Linked DNA regions of Homo sapiens: region 2 is linked to region 1. Evidence: promoter capture Hi-C in 16 types of primary human blood cells and fetal thymus (Javierre and others, 2016). All regions are on one chromosome and are shown on one strand. Each heading gives the region's core, a stretch centred on a gene start or on the middle of the fragment in contact. The rest is flanking DNA. Distances are from core to core; before and after follow the strand shown. Region 1 holds the start of PIK3C3 (phosphatidylinositol 3-kinase catalytic subunit type 3). Region 2 holds the start of ROCK1 (Rho associated coiled-coil containing protein kinase 1).

What was found. The method cuts DNA at HindIII sites, captures the fragments that hold promoters and counts their contacts. A CHiCAGO score of 5 or more calls a contact.
Region 2: a contact is called between the fragment with the promoter of ROCK1 here and the fragment with the promoter of PIK3C3 in region 1, in 1 of 17 cell types (neutrophils). The highest score is 6.7, in neutrophils.

What each region holds. Positions count from the first base shown.
Region 1 is chr18:41,952,788-41,958,226 of GRCh38, reverse strand. PIK3C3 (phosphatidylinositol 3-kinase catalytic subunit type 3) reads right to left here and starts at 2,993. Exons shown (of 25, transcript NM_002647.4): 1 at 2,868-2,993; 2 at 469-657. The coding sequence starts at 2,935. RefSeq lists an enhancer at 3,036-3,215. The HindIII fragment of the contact is 3,603 bases long and covers 654-4,256 here.
Region 2 is chr18:21,109,656-21,115,094 of GRCh38, reverse strand. ROCK1 (Rho associated coiled-coil containing protein kinase 1) reads left to right here and starts at 3,282. Exons shown (of 33, transcript NM_005406.3): 1 at 3,282-4,277. The coding sequence starts at 4,185. RefSeq lists enhancers at 2,684-2,743, 2,774-2,993, 3,093-3,387, 3,041-3,629 and a silencer at 3,034-3,423. The HindIII fragment of the contact is 6,843 bases long and covers 1-5,419 here.

The DNA.
Region 1 (5,439 bases), core at 1,744-4,243:
TGCTGAATAAACTATGAATCTAAATAAATTAGTTTCATATGTAAAATAATAATAAAAATTTTATCTGAACCGATGGCAATAGATCTATCTCTAAAAATCTGAGCTCCAAACATCAGGTTGGACAATATTTCAGACTATCCAGAAGTATTTATGCATTCAAGAGCACAGGATGGTAAAGAATTTTAAAATGCCACAGACGTGTTTTTGTTTTTGGTCATGTAAATCAGTCAAGTGCTTATCAAAATGTCAATATGCTAACTACAAACATAAATCCATTTCTATTTCAATTGCAGTTATAATACTGACATGCATAATACTTTATCTGAGTATGTTTCTACTTCAAATGATTTGATCAATGCCTATAGGTATTAAGAAATTCCTCTATAATCCTACTAAATTATACTTGCAGCATCCATAAAGAAAGGTAAGAACAGTCTGTAACATACCATATGCCACAAAAAAACTTACTTCCATCTTGTACTAAATGCTTTGTAGGATGTTCTCACTGGCAAGGCCAAAGGCTTCCCTTCTGCAAAAACTTGACAAGTAACATAAAGATCAGAGCATGTCTCTTGATATAGTCCTGAGAACTTCAACATTGGGTCTTCCAGGACAGCTTTATAACTCTTTTGTTCTCTCTTCCCTTCCAAGCTTCCTCTGAAAGCACAAGACCAACAATGTTTCAGACATGAATTTTTTAAGCATGTACATATATACATAAGTACTAAGCATGTACATATATGCTTTAAGCATGTACATATATGCATAAGTACTAAAAAGTTTACCTTTGTGTTAAGGTATGCTACCTAAACAACATTTTCCTGTATATGAAATTAATGTCATTTTTATATATGATAAGGGTTTCTTAAAATCCTAACATACCTAATATCAGTCCCATCTTCATCAACACATTTCTCTATTTTATACTTCTGAATTTTAAACGCTGCCATTGACCCTTGATCTACCCTCTGGAAGTCACCAGCTTTCTAGGCCTTGGTTTCATTTTCTTCATTTCAAGTTGACCACATATTCATCTATTCTTTCAGGAAACATTTACCATAGTGGACAAAGAAGCCCAGAAGAAAGAAAAGATAAGCAATACAGTATTACAATAAAATATTAAGTCATTGCTTCTGGGGAAAAAAATTTACTTTTAACTGCATGTTTTTATTCTACTCTTTCCATTTTTTTCTTTTACTATGCATATGCATTGTCTGATCATTTCTTTAAAACAGTGGTATAAGTCATAAATAGATATGCACAGGATACTATCACAGAGGGAGGAACATTTTTTAGACATCAAGATTACATCAGATACTGTGCCAGGCATTTTATATTTTCTTTCTTACATAATTTTCACCATATTCTCATTTTATAAATGAGGAAACAGAGACTTATAAACTAAACTCCTTATCCACAGTCACAACGTAAGTAACAGAGCTGAGAATAAACACTAGGGCAGGGAGGCCAAAGCCAATATTCTTCCCATTACAGTAAGATAAATCAGAGTCTCAAGAGTACTTAGGCTGGCATGGGGAAGGGACTTAGTACCCCAGATAGATGTCTGAAATGATCCTGAACAATGCATGAGAGTTGAAGCAAAAGAAGCAGAACGTCATCCCAAAGGGAAAGGAGACAGAGTGAGACCCTGTCTCCAAAAAAAAAAAAAAAAAAAAAAGGGACCGGTTTTTTTGGCTTTTTCTTTATTTTTAATGTTCAAACATTTCAAAAAATGCATTCATATATCCAAGAAATACTGAGCATCAAGCTGAAGGAAAGCCCTTTATCAATATTGATCCTGTATAAACTACTAGTGGTGTATGCTATGGAAAATACCTTAAATGAGTGTATAAAGTATCATACAAAGGTACAAGGTGGTTGTTGACATATTACTTTTACCACCACCACCACAAACTAAAAAGTAAAGTATTTGTCAGCGAATAAGGGACTTCTGAAAATAAAATGAAATGATCATTCAAAGGTACATCAGACAACTGAGAAAATTTATCTATCACTTACTGCAGGCCTTTGACCGACACATATTTGTTGAATATTAATTGAACATACACAAGAAATGTTTATTAATTATGGATGATGCTATGGTCAATAATTTGTGATAGCTTTGACAACACTCCTACATGACCACCTTAAAAGGGACATAATTTCCAACTCTGTCTTGTGCATCCCTCGTCATTATACCAGTTCTATTATCCTCATCTCAAGATATCACGCCCTTGACCTTTACTTCAGCCGTGGTGCCCCAACGTTTTCCTGCAAAGACTCTTTTCTCCTATCTTCTTGGTACCTTTGAAACTGGAACCCTCATCTTCGACTTACTCCCAACTTCCCTGACTAAACACTGCCATACTACCCAAAGATTCACTCTAGGCCTCTATCACCTCCCGTGCTAATACACCATGTGCTCATCTTATTCTCAACTATCGCATCTGCCTGTGTCTACCTCTCCATAATTTCTGAAGCCTTCATTCCACCCTACAAGCCCCGTTCCAAAATAAAGATCGTCCTCTTACTTACGACGAGACTTGATTTCTTAATTTACAATGAAATAGTAATAAACTCTCAAAAGGCTGAACAGCAAAAACTTTAAAGACTGTAAAATACAGCGGAACTTAAGGGCTATTCCTACTGCTGTGCTTCTCACGGAGACCACGTATTAAATCCTTTTCCAAAAGAGCCCCTCTCCACGATCCACTCTCTCGCGCCTCCCTGGCTACAGCCCTCACAGCCGCCCCCAATCTGGGCCTTGAGACGAGTCACGTACTTTCTGCCTCTCACTCCCAACAGGCCCCTGCCCCCACGTCCCTACGCCCCAGCAATCCCACTCCCTGTCCCGAGTGTTCTCTTACATCTTAAGCTGGACGTTGATATCCAGGTCACAACTATAGATGTAGTGAAACTTCTCTGCTTCCCCCATCGCACCGTCTGCAAAGGTACCACCTACAGCGGGAACTTAGGTACAGGAAAAACAACATAAATGAACCAGCTGAGCCCCACAACACGGAACTTCCGGTTCCGCCCCCGCCAGCAAGCCGCCAATCCACGCCCGGAGCGAGTTCCGACGCGGCGGAACTCCCCGCCGAAACAACCCTTCCGCGCATGTGCACAAGGCGCCCACCATCTTGCTTAAGGGCAAATGTATACGGGAAACGGCTAATCTGGTTACATTCCAGTTTTCCTGTCTTGACAGCACTTTTTTTTTTTTTTAAAGAAAAAGAGACGCTATCATTTGAGCTTGAGCTGTACCTAAAACAATACGAAAGAAAATTCAATTCAAAAAGAATTATAACAGCTTTCACTGGCTGCCGGCTAAACAGGTTACAAGCACAAAAATTGGAATTTTGCCAGGTTTAAATTCCAGTGGCCTTCCCAAAAAGTGTAGCACTAATTTGCTATCTCAAGCAAGGATTTTCTCTTTCTGCTCTAAAGAGTAGGGAAAGGACTAAATAGAGAATAAATAAATCTGGGTTTCATGTTTGGTGTTGTCAGTATTCATGCTACTTTGGACATAATACTTGCGTGCATGTTTAAACTGGGAATATTCAAATTCAATGTAGTTTCAAGCCCTAACCCAAGTTAGAATCTAGAGGCCTCCTGTAATAACTACAGAACACAGATCTCTAAACCCTCTGAGCTCCTATAATGTTTGTTTTTATAATTATTATAATCTAAAATTGTAATACTCCCTTCCAATTAGATTGAAAACTCTTGGAAGGTAAGACCAGTGTGCCATTTACTTCCGTGTCTTGCCCCGCTAGCTGTCTAATGCATTGCTGAGTTTAATACTTCCTACTTACTGGTTATTAATGATGATATTGAATGAAAGTCTCCATTTTCTATGCCTTTATTTCTTTTTTTTTTTTTTTTTTGAGATGGAGTTTTGCTATTGTCGCCCAGGCTGGCACCATCTCGGCTCACTGCAACCTCCATCTCCTGGGTTCAAGCGATTCTCCTGCATCAGCCTCCCAAGTAGCTGGGATTACAGGCACCCGCCACCCAGTCAGGCTAATTTTTGTATTTTTAATAGAGATGGGGTTTCACCATGTTGGCCAGTCGGGTCTCAAACTCCTAACCTCCAGTGATCTGCCTGCCCTGGCCTCCCAAACTGCTATGTCATTTCTTTTTTTTTTTTTTTTTTTTTTTTTGAGACAGAGTCGCTCTGTTGCCCAGGCTGGAGTGCCCGTCTCTCTGTTGCCCAGGCTGGAGTGCAGTGGCGCGATCTCGGCTCACTGCAAGCTTCACCTCCCAGGTTCATGCCATTCTCCTGCCTCAGCCCCCCAAGTAGCTGGGACTTCAGGTGCCCGCCGTCACGCGCGGCTAATTTTTTGTATTTTTTAGTAGAGTCAGGGTTTCACCGTGTTAGCCAGGATGGTCTCGATTTCCTGACCTCGTGATCCGCCCTCCTCGGCCTCCCAAAGTGCTGGGATTACAGGCGTGAGCCACCTCGCCCAGCCTATGTCTTTATTTCTAAGTGCTGCATTTTAAGACGGACATCACTAAAGTATGTGCAAAATGGCGTAATTAGAATGTTGAGGGATTAGAAAAAAAATATTTCCAAGAAAGGGTGAAAGGTGTGGAGCTGTTTAACCTGGAAAAGGAAAAAAAATGGCTAATGCAGAATGTTTTACACAAAATAAGTTCTCAAAAATATTTATGGAGGCAAGAAAAGGATTTGGGTAGAATAAAGAAAAACATGATAGTTATCCTCCTATAACTTAAAGTTTAAACAAAAAGAGCACCTTTGATTTGTTCCTAAGAATAACTGCCACCAATGGTTGGAACTTACAGGAAATGTAATTTCAACAAACAATACAAATTGAACTTTCTAATTATCACAGCCATTCAACAGTAACACTGTTGTCACAAGTACTCTGTTTAAGGCATAACTCCAGCAATGAGTGTGAGGTTTGATGTGAAACCTCAATCTTGAATAAAATATTGACAATGTGTAAAGGAGTAAATTATCTGATCCCAGTGGTGAATAAATTACTTTCATTATGTAATGGTATTTAATGTATAAACCTAAGATAATATTATATACATATACAACCAAACAAATTTACAAATTAAATATAAAAACTTCAAATTAACAATCTTAATATAATAGTGGGATTTTTTACGGAAACTGTTGTTTGCAAAATGATTATGGAATATAGTGTTGGCTACTCTTACAGGACTGATTCTTTGAAATTCAGCACGTCTATACTGCTATATTCCACAGGGCAATTCATTTTTCTAGACTCTTTTTCTCTATTCAAATAACTATGAACTCTTCATGAGTGTAACCACCATGATGTATTCTGGCTTTATCTTGCCTACAACACATCTTTTTGTTTTAAGCCTGACTTTGTCCTTTTCTCATTAGCTCATAACAATTAAAGTAATACTGATTGTTTCCAAAACAGTTGCAAACACAACACA
Region 2 (5,439 bases), core at 2,033-4,532, about 21 Mb after region 1:
GTAGAGATAGGATTTCACCATGTTGCCCAGGCTGGTCTCCAACTCTTGAGCTCAAGTAATCTGCCTGCCTTGGCCTCCCAAAGTGCTGGTATTACAGGTGTGAGCCACCACACCCACCCTTCAAGACCCTCTTCATTCAACCTGCTAAAATCATTTCACATCTTTACCTAAGGACTGTAATCAGACTGATGATATTGCAAATTCTATAACTCCCTCATTTACATGGAATCATTTAAATCTGTGCTAATGTAAATAATCCAATTGTTAAATACTTGTCACTGTATTAGGACTAGATAGTGTTAACATAGTCATAGTTATGAATGGGGGAGTTCTGTAGTTAGATTGTCTCTGTTCCAATCAGGGTCTGAGCAAATATTAACAACATTTCTCTCTGCACTTCAGTTTCCCCATCTGTGGCATAGTTTTAAAGAGATTATGTATAAAGTGTATGGAGTAGTACCTAGCACATGGTGAGCACTCAGTATGTTTGTTATATTATTATTATATTTATACATGGTATCAGTATTTTGCACTTGCATGTAGGATTTTAACATACTTTATATTTTAAGGGTGATCTCAAATATCCACAATACTTTGGAAGAGATTAGTCACAATTAGACGATAGAATTTTAAGGTTGGAAGGGAACTTTATTTTATTTTTATTTATTTATTTTTTTGACACAGAGTCTCGATCTGTCACCCAGGCTGGAGTGTAGTGGCGCCATCTCGGCTCACTGCAACCTCCGCCTCCCGGGTTCAAGCAATTCTCCTGCCTCAGCCTCCAGAGTAGCTGGGATTACAGGTGCCTGCCACCATGCCCAGCTAATGGAAGGGAATTTTTAATATAATATGATTCCACCCTATTAAAGGTGAGGACCTCTTTATTAAAAAAAGTTGGCCTGGCGCGGTGGCTCACGCCTGTAGTCCCAGCACTTTGGGAGGCCGAAGAGGGTGGATCACGAGGTCAGGAGTTCGAGACCAGCCTGGCCAACATGGTGAAACCCCATCTCTACTAAAAATATAAAAATAGGCCAGGGCAGTGGCTCACGCCTGTAATCCCAACATTTCCGGAGGCCAAGGTGGGCGGATCACCTGAGGTCGGGAGTTCAAGACCATCCTGACCAACATGGAGAAACCCCATCTCGACTAAAAATACAAAATTAGCTGGGCATGGTGGAGCATGCCTGTAATCCCAGCTATTCGGGAGGCAGGAGAATCACTTGAATCCAGAAGGTGGAGGTTGCGGTGAGCCGCGATCGCGACATTGCACACCAGCCTGAGCAACAAGAGTGAAACTCCATCTCAAAACAAAATAAAACAAACAAAACACCAAAAATTAGCTGGGCGTGGTGGCGTGTGCCTGTAATCCCAGCTACTCCGGAGGCTGAGGCGGGAGAATCGCTTGAACCCGGGAGGCAGAGGTTGCAGTGAGCCGAGATCGTGCCACTGCACTCCAGACTGGTAGACAAGAGTGAAACTCCGCCTCGGAGAAAAAAAAAAAAGTTAATTTAGAGTCCATCTATCTTATGGCAGAAGATAACTAGATTTAGAGTCCATCTATCTTATGGCAGAAGATAACTAGTGATGTGTCACAATAATCAGAAGAGCCTTGTAGGTAAGTAAGCTATATATGGACCCCACCTATATTTCTAGTAGATATTTCTAGAAATATATGGACCCCACATATATTTCTAGTAGTTCTGCCAGGTTGGTTATCACTTCCACTTATATTTATCAGTGTCACTCATGTATTGTCTTAACTACTTGTATTTTTTCGTATGTGTCTAAATGGAAAGCAACATAATGTTCACGGTTCTCTGAGAAACAACAAAATTCCTAATACCTAAAAATGGTAATAATAATAAAAAAAAGACAAGCAGGGTTTAGGAAATTTATTTTAGGGCAACTGCCTGATTTATTTTAAGCCCTATGCTTAAAAATAAGTCTAATTCACATGACTTAAAATGCTGGAGCCAAGAAAAGTCGCTGCAAAGGCATTTAATGAAATACCTGGTTTGTCTAGTTGTCTTTGTTATGATTTTTGTATAAACCAAGAACGTCCTATCTTGATATATATAGTGGATTTTATATCTAAATATTTCTTGTATTTAATAAATTGAAAATAGAAATAGACATTTTTTCAAACAGTGTAAGATTTTCCTAACCTCTGACTCACATCGTAAGGCTGGTGGACTGTTCAGATGCTGTACGATGCTTTTTACTCCGATGCTTTTTGGTTCATCTGTAGCATTTTCCATCATGGGGTAAAAGATCCACATTTTCTATTTCTAGTGATCCTTAATTTGGCTTCTGAGCAAAAATAAAGTTTGATGAGGAATAAATTAAGGTAGATTTCCTGCTGAAACCAGTGAAGAACATAACTTTATCAGCGGGGGTGAGTGACAAGTCTTTCACCTTTCCTCACACCACAGTCAACGAAGTAACGGAACTAGGAGAAATGCCCATTATTCTCATGTCCTACATTAGTTCTGATAAAAATCACAATTAAGTTTCACTGAATGTTTTGACATTGAAACGGCAGCATTACACGTCCAGGAGAGAACTACAGTAGGGGTGTTATGAGAACTAACACGAACGACTTAAAAATATTGATTTTTTTCTACGAGATTATTTTCCTTTAAAAAAATTAAATTGAGCTTGACTTCTATTGACTGTATCTTCCGGAGTCAGTATTTTATGGCTCCCCTGACACACACGCCTGGCGTGGGAGGGCTGAGCGCTGCAGCGCTTCGGAACTTTCCCAGTGAATCGTAAATGGGTTCAACGCCGGGGCTCGCGGAGGGCTGTCCATGGAGTACCACTGAAAACCAAACGCCACTGGTGCTCAATGCTGGTACCTGCCGACGAAAAGGCTTCTTGCCTAAAAAAGAACCTATTGCCCCACCCTAACAGCAACAAGGAGAACAAGCACTCTCTCCTCGTCAGAAGTCTCTGGACTGGCTGCAACCCAGAGGAAACAGAGCTGGGGCATCTGCCGGGACAGCGATCAGAAGCAGCCAGAGCTCCGCCTCCGTCCGGACCTCCAAGGCCGCTCCAGAGCCCTGCATGGCTCCTCAGAGCCGGCCAAGGCGAGAACCTTGCCGGCAGCTGCTTACCCGCACTCGGCTCCTCCCAGCGGTCCGCCTTCTCCACCGCCTGCCCGCAAGGCCCCGCCCACCTCACCGCCCCGCCCCACCCCACCCTGCGGAGGCGACAGAGTGCGCGCGCGCGCGCGGGGTCCCGGCTGGTTCCCCTTCCGAGCGTCCGCGCCCCGCATGCGCAGTCTGCCCCGGCGGTCTCCGTTTGTTTGAACAGGAAGGCGGACATATTAGTCCCTCTCAGCCCCCCTCGCCCCACCCCCCAGGCATTCGCCGCCGCGACTCGCCCTTTCCCCGGCTGGGACCGCAGCCCCTCCCAGAAGCTCCCCCATCAGCAGCCGCCGGGACCCAACTATCGTCTTCCTCTTCGCCCGCTCTCCAGCCTTTCCTCTGCTAAGTCTCCATCGGGCATCGACCTCGCCCTGCCCCACCGGACACCGTAGCAGCAGCCCCAGCAGCGACGGGACAAAATGGGAGAGTGAGGCTGTCCTGCGTGGACCAGCTCGTGGCCGAGACTGATCGGTGCGTCGGGCCGGGCCGAGTAGAGCCGGGGACGCGGGGCTAGACCGTCTACAGCGCCTCTGAGCGGAGCGGGCCCGGCCCGTGGCCCGAGCGGCGGCCGCAGCTGGCACAGCTCCTCACCCGCCCTTTGCTTTCGCCTTTCCTCTTCTCCCTCCCTTGTTGCCCGGAGGGAGTCTCCACCCTGCTTCTCTTTCTCTACCCGCTCCTGCCCATCTCGGGACGGGGACCCCTCCATGGCGACGGCGGCCGGGGCCCGCTAGACTGAAGCACCTCGCCGGAGCGACGAGGCTGGTGGCGACGGCGCTGTCGGCTGTCGTGAGGGGCTGCCGGGTGGGATGCGACTTTGGGCGTCCGAGCGGCTGTGGGTCGCTGTTGCCCCCGGCCCGGGGTCTGGAGAGCGGAGGTCCCCTCAGTGAGGGGAAGACGGGGGAACCGGGCGCACCTGGTGACCCTGAGGTTCCGGCTCCTCCGCCCCGCGGCTGCGAACCCACCGCGGAGGAAGTTGGTTGAAATTGCTTTCCGCTGCTGGTGCTGGTAAGAGGGCATTGTCACAGCAGCAGCAACATGTCGACTGGGGACAGTTTTGAGACTCGATTTGAAAAAATGGACAACCTGCTGCGGGATCCCAAATCGGAAGTGAATTCGGATTGTTTGCTGGTGAGTAGCGCTGTTCTCTTTTGCTTGTCTGGGGTTTTGCATGTCTTTCCTTCCTCTTGCATTAGTCTGGTTCGCTGCAAAAGTCTCAGGTGTGCATAATCGTCTTGGAAAATGCTAGATTTCTGTTTCCTGAAGAATCTTGGAGTACCATTAACATCTCATGGTGTGGTCCTATTTGCCATTTGACTGGCTCTGTACTAACTACTCTGAACTTTTAATTCTGACTCAGTTCATGAGTACCCGAAAGATACTTACAAACTGCTATTGCAGGCATCCTATAAAAAGTTATCACGTCAGAGTTACTGCAATGTATACAGTTTGTTGAATGGCGATCGTAGTAATTAATGTTAATCTTTCTGATCCGTTTGACAGTTAAATTGGAAAGACTACTTTGCATTTTTTTTCCTTTTTGCGATTTAGCTCCTAGGGGTTTAGTTTTTAGCCTTGAAAATGATAACGGAGAATTGCTATTGAGGAAGTGATTTTTGAGCCAAAATTTCATAGGTGATTTGAGTTTGAAGGAACTTTTTGCTAAACTATTGTAAAAAACCAAGATAATTGGTCATAGGTAATTACAGTGTTAACTTATTTTATTGTATTATTGGTTACAAAAGTACGTACCATACAGTTATTGTAACTGTCTTTTTGGTGGTGTGGCACTTAACATTGTCACTTGTAAAACATTCTAAAGAGGGTTTTATGACATGAAAAACCACAATCCCATTTTAAAAATAGTTAAGTGGTTGATAATACAGTTATCTGTAAATAATTGGAATTCTTAGGTTTGATACATTTCCTCTGTAAATGTATCAAAGTTGTTCAGAGTTTCTGAACAACTAAGGGTTATATAATATTTCTTGGTCCAAACAAAACCACATAATCTCTAAAATAAGGTTTCAGGGAGCATGTATATGGACAGGATTTCACAATGTCTTCGGTGAAATAATGTTAGATATGCTCAATTTTGGGGATTAAGATTAAGGAAACAAAATAATACCATTCAAAGAAATAATACAATTCAAAAATCGCATCTTGAATCAAAGGAAAATTAATGTAGATTGTTTAAAATTAACGTGCATTTCAGTTACTCTAAATTTCTGTTTATTTGTATTTTTCCACGTGTATGGGTTTTACAACAAGCTTCCCAAAGCTTTCAGAATTG